2 separate regions of the Homo sapiens genome follow, and region 1 is linked to region 2. The links are contacts of gene promoters, found by promoter capture Hi-C in human tissues and cell types (Jung and others, 2019). All regions are on one chromosome and are shown on one strand. Each heading gives the region's core, a stretch centred on a gene start or on the middle of the fragment in contact. The rest is flanking DNA. Distances are from core to core; before and after follow the strand shown. Region 1 has its middle 21 kb from the start of SCGB1D1. Region 2 holds the start of SCGB1D4 (secretoglobin family 1D member 4).

Region 1 (7,029 bases), core at 3,333-5,832, 130 kb after region 2:
CCGGTCTCAAGTGATGCGTTTTATTTGTTGACTTCCATTACGGTCAGGTGCTTGACTGACAGATAACTGTGACGATCATGGGCTTGTGATGGCAAAGGGCAGGGGTTTTTTTTTTTTTAAGCAACTGTAACTCCCTCTAAATCTCCTTTTGACATTTGCTTCTGTAATAGAAATGCTAATCTTTCTAGATGTGTGGTAGTGACAAAGAGGAAAATAATCCAGGGAAGGGAATTGGAGCAACAGCAGGGAAAGAAGTTCCAGTATTATTTCTTGTTTTGTTTTGTTTTCAGACAGAGTCTTGCTCTGTTGCCAGGCTGCAGTGCAGTGGCGTGATTTTGGCTCACTGCAATCTCCGCCTCCCAGGTTCAACCGATTCCCCTGCCTCAGTCTCCCGAGTAGCTGGGACTACAGGCAGGCGCCATCGTGCCCAGCTAATTTACTTTTTGTATTTTAGAAGAGACGGGGTTTCACCATGCTGGCCAGGATGGTCTCGATCTCCTGACCTCATGATCTGCCTGCCTCAGCCTCCCAAAGTGCTGGGATTACAGACATGAGCCACCACGCCCGGCCCCAGTATTGTTTAAGTAAGAAAGCTAATCCAGCTTTTCGTAATCCAGGGTAAAATTTGTCTATCTGTGGGACACCACTAACAGGATGCCCTGATGCCTCCCCAGGTTCAACAGGGAAGAGGCGGGCAGGCAGACAAGTAAAATTAAGGATTTGGGGTCCAGATATATTTTCCCATCTCTGGGTTATATGGACTGTGTGAGCTTGGAAAAGCCATTTAATCTTTTTAAGTCTCAGTAAATAAAGACTACACTTTCTTTACGTGAAAGTCAGTAGAATTAAATAATAGTATGTGTGAAAAACCCTCAGCTGTGCTGAGACGATCCCTTTAACATGAACCATCCAGTCAGTCTCATCCCGCTCCAAATAAGGCACTTTGGAGTCATCTTCACTTCCCTTCTAGTTTTATCCTTCAAATCTTCCTTTTCATCCCACACACCACAAACACAGTCGCAGCTACCCCCTTCTTTCCCTCTGTCCTTGATAGACAACCCCTAATCTCATTTCTTCTCAGCTTCTGTCTCCTTGGTAAGAAATCTGACGAGATAAATAGTATATACACCTGCTAGGATAACGCACAGTCCTCTCAAGAAGAAACGACCCTGTCAGTTGTTTTGACCTTATGCAAACACGAGTGAAACTTGTATTTCATTGTGTTCACTTTGAGAACGGCATCCAGGAACGGAACGCAAGGGCTCCTGCTAGTGACGGATGGTCTATTTCAAGTGTTCAGAGATTCCAGACTCTACATGAAATGGCGCCACCTTGAGGCTCAAACCTTATTGTTGGCGTTCAATTTAAGAAAAACTCATCAGACATCTCCTACTACAGGCCAGCCTTTGGTAATTAAAAGAATAAAACGGGCCGGGCGCTGTGGCTCACGCCTGTCATCCCAGCACTTTGGGAGGCCGAGGCGGGTGGATCACCGAGGTCAGGAGTTCGAGACCAGCCTGACCAACATGGTGAAACCCTGTCTCTACTAAAAATACAAAAATTAGCCAGGCCTGATGGCGCGCGCCTATAATCCCAGCTACTCTGGAGGCTGAGGCAGGAGAATCGCTTGAGCCTGGGAGGCAGAGGTTGCAGTGAGACGAGATCGCACCACTGCACTCCAGCCTGGGTGATAGAGCCAGACCCCGTCTCAAAAAACAAACAAACAAAAAAAACAAAACAAAACAAAAGAAAGAAAGAAAGAAAAAAAAAATGGCCACGTAAACCAACCTATACATAGGAGGCTTTTTGGAGGACATGATGAAGAGGTGAAGAAAGAAAGTACCTAGGCTGAAGGAACAGTCTAACCTCCAGCTACCTGGCATAGAGTCAGTGCAGAAGAAGACCTGATGGGAACTCAGCAGAGTGGACTCCTAGGAAGAGGGTGAGAACTGCAACCAGGTGAACCAAGACTAGGGAAACTGCTTCTGATTATGCACAGGGGATAAGATCCAGCCCCTGGGGAGCGGTGGTTAACAACAAGTACACATCATGTAAGTGCCCCGGGCACCCCTTAGTGCAAGGGGAGCTATAATTCTACCAGAACACTCTGGATGTATACATATGTTCACACAAGACCTTCCTTGTGGATTAAGACAATATAACAGCAATTTGAGAAAGAAGGTGGCTCAGGGGACACTATCCCACACAGTGCAGACAGGAAATTCTGAGCGGTTTATCATTTGGTCAGTAGGAAGTCATCAGGAAGTCATCAGAAAGTCATGAAAGTCTAGAATCAGTGGCTTGCTCACCAGCTGTAAAGGAGACAGTCATGAGTTAGGGATCAATAATTGGTAATTATCAGAGATCAATAATTAGTAATTTGACAGAGATTTACCAGGGAGGAATCAAAATTCCCCACCTCTGAAGGGTGGCGGGGGGATATTTTTACTGTGTCTCAAGATCCTGCTGGCTCCTTTAAGCCATATGTGACATATTAATCATCTTTCCACATACAAACATGCACTTGAATGACCCCTCTAGAGTCATTTAAGGACAGGCTAGGGCCATTTTTAATATGCTAAAGAACAGAGCACTTTCCCAGGCTTAGGGACTGTGGATGGTCCCAGAGACTCCAATGGTCCAGGAAGTGGAAAGTCCTCACCCATGACACTTACTTTCCTCCCAGGACTGGAGGGCAAAAGAGGAAAACAAGAAAAATATGGAGAAAATATGAAGAAAAAACAAAAGAATGTGACAATTCTTGTTCCCAATTTTGAAACAACTTCACATATTCCTTAAAACAAAGATGACAACATAAAACTATAAAAAGGTATCAAAAACCTCACAATAAGGCTTTTCTAATTACTGGGGGAAATGGCAGCCATTCCTCCCGCAGCTGTGCTGCCTCCTCGTCCTCCTCCTCATTGTTGCTGCCAAAAAGGTCAATGTCATTGCCCTTGTCATCCTCTGCTGGTGTGGTTGGCTTCTTGGCCAGGGCTCCACTTGGCACATGGGAGACACGTGCTGGGTCTGAGGGACTGTGGCCCGGTGGCCAGCAGAGCTCTTCTCCAGCACGTTCAGCTGGGCCTCCAGCCTGGACATGGCCTGCTGCAGCTCCTGCACCACGCTGCTCAGCCTCTGGTTCTCCACTTCCAGACTGGCGATCAGGACAACAAGCTCGCTGTGTTCTCCGTTGGGGCCGCTGGAGACCCTGGGGCCTGAGCTTCTGGCCAGGGATTTCTGGATGTTCTCTCTGGCTCTCGCAATGTCATGGAGGATCACGCTGGCGCCATTCTTCTGGCGGGAGGTGCTGGCCACAGGCCCGTTCATTTGCTCGTACAATCTCCTTTCTGCAATGTCATATTTGAACTTGTCAAACCAGATCTTCTCATATACTGAGAAGTTTGTAGCCATTTTTCTGATGCCAGCCAAGGACTCAGCAACGAGGGAGGAGGAATCGGTGGACGTGGGACGCCTGAGGCAAGAGAACAGAAGACTTAATGTTGTTAAGATGTCAATACTACCCAAAGATTCAATGCAATCCCTATCAAAATCCCAAAAATGGTTTTTCCAGAAATAGAAAAAACAATTATAAAATCCATATGGAATATCAAGGAACCCCAAATAGTGAAAGCAATCTTGAAAAGACGGAACAAAGCTGGAGAACTTGCTACAAAGTGACAGTAATCAAAACAATGTGGTACTGGCATAAAGACAGCCATGTAGACCAATGGAATAAAATAGAAAGGCCAGAAATAGAGTAAAAATAGAGTTACCACATGATCCAGCAATTCCCCTTCAGGGTATACACAAAATAATTGAAAGCAGAGTCTCAAAAAAAGATTTGTACATCCATGTTCACAGCAGCATTATTCACAATAAAACACAGAAGCAACCCAAGTGTCCATCAACAGACACATGAATAATCAAAATATAGTACATACATACAAGGGAATATTATCTAGCCTTAAAAAGGAAGGAAAACTACATGCTACAACATGAATAAATCTTGAAGACATGTTAAGTGCAATAAGTCAGTTACATAAAAAAAGACAAATAACGTATGATTCCACTTATATGTATGTAAAATAGTCAAAATCATAGAAACAGAGAGTAGAATGGTGATTGCCAGGGGACGGGGGAGGGAGGAATAGGAAATTATTGTTTAATGGGTATAACTTTTCAGTTTTGCAAGATGAAAAGCACTCTGGAGATAGATGGCAGTAATGGTTGCACAAAATTACAAAATGTATTTAATACCACTGATATATACATTTTAAAATTATTTAAAAAAACGATTAAGATGGTAATTTTCATGTTTTGTGTATTTTACTGCAATAAAAGAATTGAACAAAGTAATGGCAATATTTTTTTCATGTGACAGCTTTTCACTTAGAGGGCAGGGCTTTTCCAAACAAATTAAAGTTATTAGGCAAGCCTGTGTGTCTTGGAGACTTTATTATTTTGTTTGTTTTAATAAATACAGACAGGGTCTTGTTATGTCACTCAGGCTGGTCTCAAACTGTGCCCGCCATTCTTTAGAAATTTTGGGAAATACAGGGTTGGGTGCAATGGCTCATGCCTGTAATCCCAGCACTTTGGGAAGCTGAGGCAGGGGGATCACTTGAGCCCAGGGGTTGGAGACCAGCCTCAGTGACATAGTGAGACCTCATCTCTACAAAAAATCAAAAAAATGAGGCAGGAAGATTGCTTGAGCCTGGGAGGTTGAGGCCACAACGAGCCGTGATCATGCCCCTGCATTCCCGCCTGGGCAACTGAAGTGAAACCCTGTCTCTAAATAAATAAATAAAATAAATTTGGGGAAATAAAGAAAAGCCCATAGAAGTCACCCATATACAACCAGTGTTAACTTGCTGGGCTCATGGGGTCAAGTCTTTTCCCATCCATCCAGACACAGATACCTGGATATCAGCATCTTGCTGCACAGGTGGGCTCATGCTCTGTGTGCATTGTTCCCTGGACAAGGCACAATGGCCATTCCCCCATCATGATAAATGTGCCTAACTCTTTTCTTCCCACCTCCATGTGCAAAAAGGTAGTTGAGTCAAGCAAAGCTTCTTTGAGGGCTCCAGAGCTGACTTCCCAGCTGCTACTGGTCCTTTTGGGTCCTCTCCCAGTGTTGAGACTCCTGATTTCAAGGACCCTGATTTCAAGGGTGCTGATTTTGAGGGTCTGAAGAAGTTCAAAGAGGAGGTGGATATCCAGCCAGCTAAGCAGAAAACAGCAACAGTCAACGGTAGTGAGCCCCTCTCTGCCCTTCTCTCTAACAGTGACATCCTGAGTCAGGGCTCAGTCCTGGGCAGAACGAGAGTCCTGGGCAGTTCCCAAGAGGAACTGGCCTGGAGGCCCAAAGGGCGGGATATCCACTTCACTGTGCCTTATCAATGTGCAGCTCAGGTATGAGAATCTGGTCATTAGGGCCTGACCAGTAAAGTTCCCAATATCCAAAGTTACAGAGCCCCGAAAGTCCCCCAGCTGCCTAGAGGTGCTTAGCAAAAAGTAAAAATAATACAACTCTGTGTTTGACCCTCACGTACTCTACAGCTCCTTTGGCCACTCCCTTTCTCTGCCAAACCCCAGGACCCTGTGTACCCCTGCTGTTCTCCCTGTCCCACCAGATCTCCCCTGGCCTCACAGGAACCTGACAAAAGGGAAGTGAGACAGGACAGATATGAAGAAAATGTGAAGTGATGGTTATTTTACACCTAGGCATCAAGAGACACAGTCGTTTGCTCAGCAGGTGGGATTTCTCCACATAGGCGGCAAGGAGAAACAATGCCGGGGTCCAGCATCAGAGACAAAGCTGGCAGAATTCACCTGCCCAGACCCCTCCTGCCTCCTGTTTCCCATTGGCCAAAGTTCACCCCATGAACTTCAATTCCCTGCACTTCTGGGACATGTCATCTGTACAGCTCCATCAGTGATACCAGATCCCACGTCCTGCGGCCAGGGACCAGAAACCCCGGGTGGGAAATAGCAGTCTGGGAGAGGGCCCTACTTTGCCAGGGCAAGGACTGGGAAGTCCCCACTGGCATCAGAAAAGTCTGGGTGCTTTTGGCCAACAAGAGGCAATGGAGGGAAGCCTCTTAACATTTCTGATGTCTTGACATGCGTCGTAGCAGGCTTGCCTTAGAGCAACACCTTCGAAGTCCAGTGGAGCTTCCTGCCCGACTGCACACTCCACACAACCTTGGGCTTGAGGTTGCTTTAACTCTTTGAGTGTCACTTTCCAGAGACTTAAAATGAAGATGAAGATAATATCACCCCTCAATCAGCAAATGCGATTGAAGGTTATGGCCAACGCAACTCAACTCGCCCAGTGCCTCACACACAGTAGGCACTTTGCGATTAAAGGTTGTCATCCATATTCCCAGACTATTCCCCGGGAAGTGGTTAGACAGAGCTGGACAACAAACCCCATCTCCTTGGCCCTGACACAGGGAGTGGCAAAAGGAGCTGTAGAGTCCACATCAGGGCCAAACACAGATTTTTATTATTTTTATTTTTTGCTAAGTGACTCCAGGCAGGTGGCGGACAATTAGGGGAGGTCCCTGTTGTAATTCCCAGCCCTGCCCTCCTACCCGAGGAATGAGAGAGGATTCCCTGCATTGCAGTCTGCATGTTGACCTCATGTAGACTAACACGCCTTAGTCTACTGGAGGGAGACAGAGAACACCCTGCATTCTCTGCCCGAGTCACTCTCCTCAATCTGCTTCAGTAGAACGTGAGACACAACTGTTGAAGGCCAGCAGCCCCTGGTCCCGAGCGCGGCAGTGCCACAGTGGATGCTCTCCCACCTGAGCCCTCGGACTGGGCCTCAGTGGGTCCTGCTCCCACAAGTGTCACTGTCTCAATCCGGAGAGTGGAGCTCGTAGGAACAGGACCTCATTGCCACATTTTCTTGGCCCCTTTCATTAAAAACACTGCAATCACCTTCATGGTAAGGCTCCTCCCTGTGGAGGTCTCCTACAGAAGTAGGTGAGGACTGGTTGCTGGGATTGAAGAGAG
Region 2 (6,589 bases), core at 1,299-3,798:
GCCTTTGATTTTGAGAAGTAACTGCTTTTAATTTTGGGGGTTTCATGAGGAAAACAGTTTTTTTTTTTTCCCCAAAATGGGGTCTGTGGTGCCTCCTCTGTTTTTCCCAAGGAGTCCCATGCTACCAGAAGTTATCTTAGGGCTTCTCATGCTTGCATTAAGAATGGTAAGATGAAAAATGGAGAAAAATAATTCAGTTGATTGAAAAGAAAAGAGCCTTTTTCCCAAAAAACAAGATTCAACAAGAGAAAAGCATAAAGACCTTTTCAATATACCTATAACTTGAACATATCCACTTTTAATTAAGCTGAGCACTTTTAAAGAAAATCCTTTTAAATTCCTTGTTACTTGAGATTGCTGCAAATGAGAGGTGCATGGTTCCAGCAGAGTCTATGAAGGGGAGTATTGAACAAGTCATCGGGGTCAGGCAACGATGTCCATGGATGGAAAGAATAAACTAAAATCTTGAGTCAATTGTGTAAAAAGGAGGGAGCCATAAAAAGCATCAATGATGAAAACAAAAAAACCCTGCATAGGTGTTAATCGTGGTAGGACTAATAAAAGTATACGCAAACAATCCTCTGTCAGAGATACACATGCTCCCCAATGGACTGTACAGATGACAAGGTGAATGTCAAGCCTGAGTGAGGATAAACTCTCATCCACAAAAAGGGTGGATGCTTCACAGACCTGTCTACTGCAAAAGAGGCCTCAGTCCTGAAGCCCATATTCATGGGTTTGCAGCCTCCAAGACCATGAGCTGGGTTTCCTTTTCCATTTATGTCAAAGAGAAATGGTGTATCTAGGTGTCCGTGTAGTTCTGCAAGTAGGTGATTTAGTGGATTTTGGCTGTGCTCTAAACTAGGAACTACTGGCAAACCATGACATATATGACAAATGGGACAAGATAATGGCAGTTTACATTGAGAACTACTATGTACCAGAACTTGGTATATTTTAAACACACACACACCCATGAACACACTCATTTGATCATCTATCAACCCAATGATGTAGGCACCATTAGTAGCCTACTTTGACAAATGAGAAAACTGGGGTTACATAAACTGAATAATTTTCCTAAGGTCCAGGAGCCCATAAATGAGGATCTGAACCCTCATAGCTGTAAACCTCACCACCAACCCTCCCCCTCCTTGGTGGCAGCAGGGCTGATTCAGGGACTCCGTCGTCATCCTGTGTGATGAAAGTGAGATCCACTGTTGCCCTCAGCTTGGACTCAACTAAATCTGTCAATGTGTCTTTGATGACAAAACCCGTAAGGTCCCCTTCCTTCTTAAAGGTTTTCCTGGCTGGATCTCAGCCCTGCTGTCTGTGAGAAACACCAGAGCAGTTTAAACAGTACAGAAAGGAGGGATTCACCCCAATGCTACTGAATCAAAATCGCCAGAGAGAGAAGCCTGTGGGGTCAGTATGTTTTAAAAGCTCCAAGTGATTTGACTACATAGCTGAGAATGGAAAGCTATGGCCTGGGCTGTGACTCCTCTCAAATGTAAGTTTATTTAAGAGAAAAATTTCTGGTGATTAAACTCACACCACATGAAGGCACGGCAATGGGAGGGAAGGCGGGTGTGTATTGCTTTGTCTGGGGGCTTCCTTCACTTTCCCTTAAAAATGGGATTGGCCCAGGCAGCACAGATAGGTTTGAAGTGGAAAACTTGAGCCTAGGGGTTAGGGGGAAGTGACCACCCACCCTGTTCCTCTGTCTCTTCCCTTCTATTATCTTCCCAGCCTAGAGCCCCACTGATGTATGATTGGCTCTGAACACTCCAAAAGCTCTTGAGAAAAAGAGTTAGGTTATTTAATCTTCAGATCAGCCCTAAGATAAGACGTGGGTGGCTACACATCACAGAAAGCTTGCTTTTTATAGATAGAAAATGTGAATCTTGGCCATATATATAACTGCACGTATAAACAAGATTCAGGTTTGGGAGTGAGGCAGGCTAGAGAACAGGTGCAGCAGATGTTTTTCCTCAGCATATCTTCTACAGGTGGGATGTATTCAACTATGTTTTCAGTACCTATGCAGTGAACATGGTGGTGATGGAAGGGGCTGAGGGGAAGGATTAGACTTTCCCAATGTGCAACTGAAACAAGCCTGCTTGTTGTCAGACATGCAGGGGGATCAAAGCAGGGTCTCCTTATGTCCCTGCTCTCCCATAAAGAGAACACAGCCTTCCAGCTTCCTGTGCCTTGTGAAGCCATAATTCACCTGTGCCCCTGCACTGCTACAAAGATAAAAAGAACTAATCAGCAAAAGCTCATAAGGAAATTGAGGATCCCAGGAACATTTCCAGATGTACCTGAACACTCACCTGGAGCACAGAGCAGAGTTCTCACAAGGCTGCTGTCTTGTGCTCCGCCCCACTCAGATGCAGAGATTCCTAAGGAGGTGACATTGATGGACGGCAGCAGCCCTGGCTTGGAAGGGCGGGCTGGGAGCCAGGCCTCATGACCTACCAGGTGCCCCGGTAGGTAGGACCAGCCAGGCTCCCTAGGTACAAATAGCCCTGGCCTCCATGACTACACAGGCTCCTGGAGTCGAATCCAAATCACTCATTGTGAAAGCTGAGCTCACAGCCGAATAAGCCACCATGAGGCTGTCAGTGTGTCTCCTGATGGTCTCGCTGGCCCTTTGCTGCTACCAGGGTGAGTACATCAGTCATGAGTCCAGCACCAGCCCCTGGGATGCACCCTCTTCTGAGCACAAGATCACCTATTTGTGCTTTGGGTTGGGGTCTGCACAAAACCAAACAAAATTCCAAACCCTTTTCTGTGCTTGTTGAATAAGATTCATAAAGGTTAGAGCTATTTCTTCTTTCTTCTTCCTTTTTTTTTTTTTTTTTTTGAGAAGTTTTGCTCTTGTTGCCCAGGCTGGAGTGCAGTGGCATGATCTTGGCTCACTGCAACCTCTGCCTCCGGGGTTCAAGTGATTCTCCTGCCTCAGCCTTCCTGAGCAGCTGGGATTACAGGCATGGGCCACCACAGCTGGCTAATTTTGTATTTTTAGTAGAGATGGGGTTTCTCCATGTTGGTCAGGCTGGTCTCGAACTCCCGACCTCAGATGATCTGCCCGCCTCGGCCTCCTAAAGTGCTGGGATAACAGGCATGAGCTACTGCGCCTGGCTGCTTAGAGCTATTTCTTCTAATCCCCAGTATCTAAGAAGTTTTATAGAAAAATCAGTTCAGGCAAATGTTAGGAATTCTTCTGCCTGAGCTTCACTTCTGAATGGGATCTGTGTCAGATGATGTAATGTGAGGTCTGGGGTGAACCTGGGCTTCGACACTTCCCACCCCTTGATCTTGGGCACAATGCTCACCCTCCTTGAGCCTCCTCTTATCACTGGTGGTTAAAGCTTCTGCCAGGAGTGGCTATGAGAATGAAGTAAGGTTATGGTTGTCAAGAGTCAAGCTGTGGGCCAGGCATGGTGTCTCATTCCTGTAATCTTAGCACTTTGGGAGGCCACAGTGGGCAGATCACTTGAGCTCAGGAGTTCAGCACCAGCCTGGGCAACATGGCGAAACCCCATCTCTACAAAAAAAAAAAACAAAACAAAACACACACACACACACACACACACACACACACACACAAAAGCGGGCATGGTGGCAGGCACTGGTAGTCTCAGCTACTTTGGGGGCTGAGGGAGGATCGCTTGAGCCCAAGACATTCAGGCTGCAGTGAGCCGAGATTGTGCCACTGCATTCCAGTCTGGGTGAACCTATCTCAAAAAAAAGAAAAAGAAGTCTAGCTGAGGATATGAAGCTCTTCCCTTTGTTGTGTGACCCGGAGAAAGTCACACCTGGAGTTTCTGGTATTGTCATCAGCACAATAATGGTATAGAAACATAGAACCCAGGGGATCCTGTCTGGTGTAACCTCAGGGAGCCATGAGAGAAAAATCGACTTTCCTAACATCAACAATATTTTTATTTTTGTGCTGCAGCCCATGCTCTTGTCTGCCCAGCTGTTGCTTCTGAGATCACAGTCTTCTTATTCTTAAGTGACGCTGCGGTAAACCTCCAAGTTGCCAAACTTAATCCACCTCCAGAAGCTCTTGCAGCCAAGTTGGAAGTGAAGCACTGCACCGATCAGATATCTTTTAAGAAACGACTCTCATTGAAAAAGTCCTGGTAATTTCTTTCTCCTTTATGCAGAGGCAGAATTCAACTCAGCTGCACACAGCCTCCTGCATGTTTCTTGTCAGGTCACCTGCCTGGATGCTGTGTCCCCAGAGTGTGCTGAGGACATGGGGAGTGAGCTAGGGCCAAGGCAGGGATGGTGAAGGGCCAAGCACGGCCGCCTCCCTGCTGGGATCTTTCCTGAGGTCAACCTACCCTCACGCAGTGGACACGGTCACTATGGGATGTCCCAGGGAGTGTGGGAGATTTGAACAGGGAGAGGAGGCTTGAGGGGACCTAGAGCTGGGCCTCCCACAGACAGGGTGCTGGTGAACTGGGCTCCTGTGCAGCTTCTGCAGAGCCAGGAGCCCCTTGCAGCTCCTCAGGGCCCACTATCCACTCCTCATCCATGACACTCTCCTGACCACAGCCAGTGGGCCAAGACTTTTTCGCTGCTCTACCTACTGCAACGCCACACAAGTGGGATGTTCTCACTATGTCTTTCTCAAGAAATCAGAGATTCCAGGGCCCTCTCAGCCTGGCTGCCTCTGGATTGTTGTCCTGAGGTTTGGCTGCAAATACCCATAGAAGCTGCAGGGTCAGGGCTGATAAGACCCCTGGCCGTTAGGCAGAATTCTCCCATGGGAAGACTGGAGTCTCCTGGAAGGTGTGTTTCCCAGAAGCCCTCCCTGCCCTGCCTGGCTTCAGAGCCCTGGGTCCCCCATTACAGGGATCAGGAGACTCCACAGACCTGGGACAGCCCAGACAACAACCTCTTGCTGCACTGTCAACCCCTCCCCTCCTCCTCCATGAAAACCCTGGGCCTAACTCCTGGGTCTTCCCAGGTCTATTGGTCTGGTGGGGAAAGGCTGCTTTCTCACCAGAATGGGTGTTGTAAGGCCACCAGGTCTAGGCCTCAGTTTCCCAAACTGAATTCTTGCCTCTGCCTTTCCAATTGCCATTGGGGCAAAATCCCATTGGCCTCTTTGATGTTAGCCTATCATCACCAGCAGCAGCATGACTGACCTCACCTTTCTTTCTTTCTTTCTTTTTTTTGATTTCAGGTGGAAATAGTGAAAAAATGTGGTGTGTGACATGTAAAAATGCTCAACCTGGTTTCCAAAGTCTTTCAACGACACCCTGATCTTCACTAAAAATTGTAAAGGTTTCAACACGTTGCTTTAATAAATCACTTGCCCTGCACATCTCCACTGGTCTTGTTATGATCCTGCAGTCTCGGGCCTTGAATCGAGGGTGGTTTCCATAGGGGAGTGGACTTTTGCTGTGGCTGATAATCAACTCTAGAGTAACCAGCATTCTGTTACTAATGGGGCCTGAATGCAAGCATCCCAGAAGGAAATATTTGCAGAAATCATCCTGGATTCCTTACAGATTTCCCATCCTGCGTTCGCGAATGAAAACCATGGCAATAGAAAACAGCAATTACAGTGGTCCTGCTGGTCTTGGACTGAGGGATCTCCCAGCCTGCCTTGGTGTCCAGGCACGTGGTTCCCACTAGCAGCAGCCCTAGCCCTAGTTTGTTGTCCCCTCAGATGCACAGCCAGCCTGCTTGGTGCTCTCTCTGCACCAAGTCATGTCCAGTATACTTTATTTTCCATTTATCACAATTTGAGGGCATCTCCAGGTTTCAACCTGGAGTTCACATTGTTTTACTCCCCACACTCAGAGCACTCCTCAGTGTCCGCCTCACTCACCAGCACCTGAGGCAAATGCTTCCTTCCTCAAGCTCTCTCAAGAGCTCCAGAGACCAGCACCCCTTGCCAACTGGACAGCTCCCAGTGCACACTCCACAGTCATTTCAGGAGCAGGATGTAAAACTGAGCACAGGGTCTGCCCCCAGCCTGCTCTCCCTTCCATAAGCCCATCCAGGCTAATGCACCCAACCTAGCAAGCCCCCTGACCAGGACATAGGGAGACGCCACAGGTTCCTGGCTTGGTGTCCTGTGGCTGCTGCAAGAAACCTCCGAAAGCTTGGTGGCTTAAAACAACGGATTCTCTTGTACCTCTGAAGGTCAGAAGCCCAACACTGGTATCACTGTGGGGAGGTCAGGGGGCAGCAGGGCTCTGTTCCTTCTGGGGGCTCTCCGGGCGAGTTCACTAAGGGCTGCTGACCATGCTGGTCCTGTGGCCACATCACTCCAACCTCTGCCTCCATGATACATTCCCATCTCCTTTCCTTTCCGTGTCAAATCCCTCTCTGACTTTTAATTACAAAATACAGAGGTTGGGGTTAGGAAGCACCAGATTATTCAGAATAATGTCCCTATCTCAAGATCCTTAACTGAATCATGTCTACATAATGCTTTTTCATCTTGCAATGGGCCATTCACAGATTCCAGGGATTAGAATGTGTATATCTTTTGGGAGATGGAGGCATAAATCAGCCAACTACAGCTTCCCTCCCTCCTGACTCCTCACCGTACCCTAAG

Evidence for each region. The method cuts DNA at HindIII sites, captures the fragments that hold promoters and counts their contacts. A contact is called where the count stands out against the background at its distance.
Region 1: a contact is called between a fragment that was not itself captured here and the fragment with the promoter of SCGB1D4 in region 2, in 1 of the 25 tissues and cell types used here (H1 embryonic stem cells).

The regions. Positions count from the first base shown.
Region 1 is chr11:62,165,678-62,172,706 of GRCh38, reverse strand. It overlaps the pseudogene EEF1DP8. Among named protein-coding and RNA genes, the nearest start is that of SCGB1D1, 21 kb to the left of the region's middle. The HindIII fragment of the contact is 4,245 bases long and covers 2,460-6,704 here.
Region 2 is chr11:62,295,034-62,301,622 of GRCh38, reverse strand. SCGB1D4 (secretoglobin family 1D member 4) reads left to right here and starts at 2,548. Exons shown (of 3, transcript NM_206998.2): 1 at 2,548-2,667; 2 at 3,965-4,151; 3 at 5,204-5,342. The coding sequence starts at 2,613. The coding sequence ends at 5,213. The HindIII fragment of the contact is 5,452 bases long and covers 1-4,752 here.